Linked DNA regions of Homo sapiens: region 1 is linked to region 2. Evidence: promoter capture Hi-C in human tissues and cell types (Jung and others, 2019). All regions are on one chromosome and are shown on one strand. The core of a region is centred on a gene start or on the middle of the fragment in contact, and the rest is flanking DNA. Distances in the headings are between cores, read along the strand shown. Region 1 has its middle 10 kb from the start of FBXO32. Region 2 holds the start of FAM91A1 (family with sequence similarity 91 member A1).

What was found. The method cuts DNA at HindIII sites, captures the fragments that hold promoters and counts their contacts. A contact is called where the count stands out against the background at its distance.
Region 1: a fragment that was not itself captured here is called in contact with the fragment with the promoter of FAM91A1 in region 2 in 1 of the 25 tissues and cell types used here (mesenchymal stem cells).

The regions. Positions count from the first base shown.
Region 1 is chr8:123,550,015-123,552,758 of GRCh38, forward strand. No RefSeq gene overlaps it. Among named protein-coding and RNA genes, the nearest start is that of FBXO32, 10 kb to the left of the region's middle. The HindIII fragment of the contact is 3,908 bases long and covers 1-2,744 here.
Region 2 is chr8:123,767,115-123,769,920 of GRCh38, forward strand. It overlaps FAM91A1 (family with sequence similarity 91 member A1), which reads left to right and starts at 1,325. Exons shown (of 24, transcript NM_144963.4): 1 at 1,325-1,660. The coding sequence starts at 1,589. RefSeq lists a silencer at 1,511-1,660. The HindIII fragment of the contact is 9,142 bases long and covers 1-2,806 here.

The DNA of each region.
Region 1 (2,744 bases), core at 59-2,558, 220 kb before region 2:
ATGTTGGCCAGGGTGGTCTCGAATTCCTGACCTCGTGATCCACCCGCCTAGGCCTCCCAAAGTGCTGGGACTACAGGCATGAGCCACGGTACCCAGCAAAAATGAAATTTTTAAAAGGGACTTTATTATTATTTTATTATTATACTTTAAGTTCTGGGATACATGTGCAGAATGTGCAGGTTTGTTACATAGGTATACACGTACCATGGTGGTTTGCTGCACCCATCATCCTGTTATCTACATTAGGTATTTCTCCTAATGCTATCCTTAAAAGGGACTTTAAATGAAGTTGAATAGTAGTTTTTAAAAGTCAATGTGTAATTTATGTGAAATCTAACAGTAATGAGGTCCTTTCTGTTTTTTGTATGTAAACAGATCTACTAATCCTGTATAAAGGTTATTTTATGAAAAAAAAAAACAAAAAAACAAAAAAAAAAACCTGATTCCTGGCACATAGGAGATTTCAGTGTGTGTCAACTGTGGCCCATCAACTGCAAGCCGTCTTACTGCTTCTCTCAGGCGATTCAATAAGAATAAAAAGCAAATGAATCCTTGATTTCTTTTAAATACTGCATTCATTTCAGGAAGAAGAAAGTGATTTAAAAAGAAGTACAGAATGTTCATCTTCTCTTTCATTCCAACTACAGCCTGAGAAGTTCAGTCCCTTAAGGGACATAATATTTTCAACCACGGTTGATAGTAATTTAATAAATAATTTAGTATTTTAAACATCTGCTTTGCTAAAAGTGGTATGCCATAAAACCTCTGCTAATGTCTTGAAACTGTGTATATTTTGAAGAGATGGTGCATGTCTTAGATTTTTTCCCCTCCTCTATCAGCTAAGCAATAGGAATGCCTATCTTTAGTTCTGTTTTAGAGCATTTTTGGGGTGGTAAAATATATTACAAATTATTACTCATTCATTGTCTCAACAGGGATGCATCATGCCATTGCTATGATCCTGGTGCTCTTCTAAAGCAGCTTTGAGAACACAAAGATGAACACTTACCCTTAGCGAGTGTACAGGCTGTAAGGAGAGAGAGAGACATTAATATGTATACCTAAAGCCGAGCCTATGTGCAGTGAAGGGGGTGGAGAAAAGAGGGAGGTAGGGAGGTGGGGGGAGGGGGGGGAGAGAGAGAGAGAGAGAAAGAGATACAGGGCACCATTAGAGCACTTAGGAGGATAAAGCACCTAATCAGCCTGGAATAGTCAGAGGAAGCTTCGTGGAGTTGGTCTCAAACCAGGTCTTAAAGGACGGGTAGGAATTAATCAAGCAAATGGAGGTAAGGATGGGAGTGGGTGGGCATTCCGGGGAGAGGAGACAGTAGGAACAATGGCGGAGAGGAGAGGAGCAGCATATGACATGGTGAAGAATAGGATGTGGAGCAGGGCATGAGGATAGCTGGTGATGGGGAAATAGGCCAGGGTGAGATTGCAGAGGGCTCCATGTGCCTTACTGGAAAGCCTGGGCTTTGTCTGAAATGATGGGAGCCATGGAAGAGCTGTAAGCAGGAGACCACCAATGGGCAGATAGTGCTGTAGGGAGATTCTCTTGCCGAGTAGAGAGATGGATAGAAGAAATACGTGACAGGGGGCAAGAGACCAGTTAGGAGGATGTGGCTGTTTCCAGGCAACAGTTGATGAGCAGCAGAACTGGGAGTGCCATGGAGAGCTGGGACAGACTCATGCCACACCTAAGAGGCAAACACTGCAGGACACCCTGAATGCCTCCTTGCAAGGGATGAGGAAAGGGAAGTGCCAAGCAGGGCCTTTCAAGATTCTGGTTTAGGTACATCATTCTGAGCAAACTATTGCGAGGACAAAAAACCAAACACCGCATGTTCTCACTCATAGGTGGGAATTGAACAATGAGAACACTTAGACACAGGAAGGGGAACATCACACCCCAGGGCCTGTCATGGGGTGGGGGAAGGGGGGAGGGATAGCATTAGGAGATATACCTAATGTAAATGACGAGTTGATGGGTGCAGCACATCAACATGGCACATATATACATATGTAACAAACCTGCACATTGTGCACATGTACCCTAGAACTTAAAGTGTAATAAAAAAATAAAGCAAACAAAAAAGAAAAAAATAAGATTCTGGTTTAGGTAAAAGAAGAAATAAATGGTTGAGTGGAAGCTTGAGGACTGCAGTCTCATTGTTCTGAGAGAGACTTCACTTTCACTGACTTTCGGGCAGAGAACAGAACAAATTCTGTGCTTCCTCTGCCCCTGGGGAGATTGCCTGTGTTGCTGGAAGGACTTCTTCCTAATTGCCCAGACCTGCCCAGAAGAAGAGGCAGGAACTGTATTTGGAACAACATTCAGAAGGGATCTGTTCTTGTTACCTTCACCTTTCTGACCCATCTTGAATAAGATGGTCTTTCTCTGCCAGTGGTTACAGCACTCCTGTACATGTTCCATTTTCAAATGCCTTAAAAATGTTATGAATATATATATCGTGCTAGTTCTCTCTATAAAGTAGTTATAATAAACTTTATTTCAACCAAACAAACAAATAATGAAATTACCTAAAATCAGTAAGTCAATGAATTCATGGTAAAAATTTATCTTATTTTTTTTGCCATCTGGTTAGAACCCATTTTCTGCTAGCCCCCTCATTTTTAGGGGATACTTCACTGTGTGCAGCCTTGGTGGGAGGTCATGCTCACTTCCAAAAACGGGACCTAAAAAGACCTGATCTTTTCACTCTCTGCTGTGGTCCAGCCAGGGT
Region 2 (2,806 bases), core at 75-2,574:
TGATCTTGCGAGCAAGTCATGAAGCCCTGCCAAGCCTCAGTCTCCTCCTCTATCAAACTGGGATAGTAAGTGGTTACTGTTGTAGGAATATCAGGGTTGTGAGGAATAATCTATTGTCAAGTCAAGGCCTTAATACATGGCGGGCAGGTAATCAATATTTGTTGAATAAATGTCTCACGGTTAGAGTTCAGTTAACCTTAGCTATGCTGATGAGGATCTGTAAACATAAGGTTCAAAGCACTTATCTTTGGGTTATTATAGTTGGATAATAGGAGACCAAAACATCTAAGCAAGGGCAGTGTGTACTTGTCACCTTTATTTCATCAGACATAATGGGGTTTCTGCTAAGCATCAGACTTGCCAGCTGTTGAGGTGTGAGCTAGGTATCTTATAAAAAGTTCTAAGTATACATCTCCCAGTATATAATAAAACATTATTTAAAACCATTGTTAAAAACTGAAAAACAGTTGCAATAACACTGAACTTGTCTCTGGTTGCTGCCAGGAATAATGGTCACGGGTTTGCTAAGGCAGCGTAACAACTTCTGAAAGAAATTATTCCCAAAGACCTTATCACTCAATCTGAAATTAAGACATGCTGGATTTTTGCTTTTAAGTGACTCTGGAGGCATTTGTGTGGAGCAGAATAAAGCAGAAACCGACAGGCTGCATGACAAAGTTGGCAAGGGTATCTCTCTGTCAGCCCTGTAGGCTGCCTCGACCTGTCAGCACCACTGTTTAAAATTTCAGCTCCCTGAATCCCTGCATTGTAAGAATTTGGATCTTCTTGGGAAGTGGAGCCCAATGACGTGCAGCACACCGCGGAAGGGAAGAGGGCTTACCAGACCTTTGCTCTCCCACTGCCCATGCTTCTCGCTCAACCCGGTGCGAGACCTGACTTAGAGATTATTTCTTTCTCCAGGGCCCTGGACCCGTCCCCGCAACCCCCCGCCCCGTCTCACTGGCCCGGGTTCCGGGCTGGCCTGTGGAGAACCCCCGCGAGCGCACCGCACTCCAATGTAAAGCCAGCCACTGCCGGCCCGCTTCCCAGGTCGCTTTTCTCTGAAAACCGACCCCAGTGCCTCCGGCTTTACAATTTGAGTAAACTGGGTCATCAGCAACGGCAACGCAGACCCAAGCGACTATCGCCGTTCATTCAGAGACTGAAACGGGGAGACGAAGCGCGCGGGCGGGGAACGCTCACCCGGGCACCTCCCGGTACCTCGTCGTCGCCCCGCCCCGCAGCCTGTAGAGGGCGTGGCTAGAGGCCAGTCCGTGCCCCGCCCCTCCGGCCGCGCGCCAGCGGGCGGAAGTGACGTGTGCCCAGAGCCATTTCCGGCGGCCCGAAACTAGGAAGAAACTTGGAGCTGTTCAGGCGATCCAGCCTCCAATCGCTGCTGCTCTTGTACTCGGTTGGCCCGGGCGGCGCTGAACTGTCGGGAGCCTAGGCCATGGGGCAGCCTGGGCCTTCTGCAGTGTGAGGCGCGGGGCCTCCCGCGTCGCTCCGCTGACAGGCTGCGGGCGGGCAGGCGGGAGGCGTAGTGTGGGTCGCGGTGGCGGCCCCGGCCGCCGGCCCTGGCCGCGGCATCATGAACATAGACGTGGAGTTCCACATCCGGCACAACTACCCCTGGAACAAGTTGCCGGCCAACGTGAGACAGGTACGGCCGGAACCTGGGACCGGGCCCCTGACGGATTCGGCCCGCCCAGCGGTCACCTGCTTGCCTCGCTCGCGGGGCCCGAGCGGGCTGCTGCCGGCTGACTCCCTTCCTTTACTCCTCCGTGGTCTTGGGGAGACGGACCTTCAGCCCAGGGCGAGGAGGGGACGGCTGTGGGGCCACAGGGCCAGGACGGGGCGATCGCTAAATGGGATGGCATGGTGTCCACAGGACTCGACTGGCGCCTTTGCCCGCAGGATACATTCAGCCAGGCACCTGCGATAGAGATTTTAAACACGGTCCTTGACCTCCGGAATTTCAGGATGGTGGGAAAGGGATGGGAAACAAATGAATACGATACAGGATGATAGCAGCTCATACACACCTGCATTGTAGTATATGTGAGAGCAGAGGGAGGGAGAAATTATCCTGGGAGAGTTGGAAGGATTTTTAAGGCAGGCACTTAAATTGGGCCTTGGAGGACGAATAAGAGTTAAATAAGAGGGAATAAAGATTTTTCCAGGGGGAGGGAAAGTCATTTTACAAAGCTTGGATGAGTGAAAGAACATGTCTCATGAGTAGCAAGTGACTGTATCACCAGAGTTTGGACTGACATGTTTGGAGTTGAAGTTTTTTGAGTGCGCGGGGCTGGTAGCAGATGAGCCTGGAAAAGTGGTCAGGGCCAGATTTTGAAGGTGCTTGTGTGCTTTGTTTTGTTGGACTTTATCCTCCAGACAAGATGGGTTTATCAGAGATGTTTCAACAAGAGTGACATGAGGTTTTTGAAAGTTAATTCTCGATTTTTTTAGTCTGTTTTACTCAATTGTTTAATAGATATTTATTGACCACCTACTAGGTGCTGTGCGTTGCTCTAGGTGCAGGTAATTTGCAACAGTCAACAAGACAAAGACTGCCTTCATGGAGCTTACATTTTACTAAAGAAAGACGTAAACAAATAAATGAATAAATACGTAACATAGCAGATGGTTTTAAGTCTTACGAAAGTAGTGATATGGGCTACAGATAACGCACTGCTGCTCTGGTCATAGATTGACCTTCGCTTCCTCCCATTATACTTGGTCGAGAGTGAAATTCAGTTTTCTGTTGGCACTCGGCAGTGGCATTTTTGGGAAGTTTGGAATGGTGGCG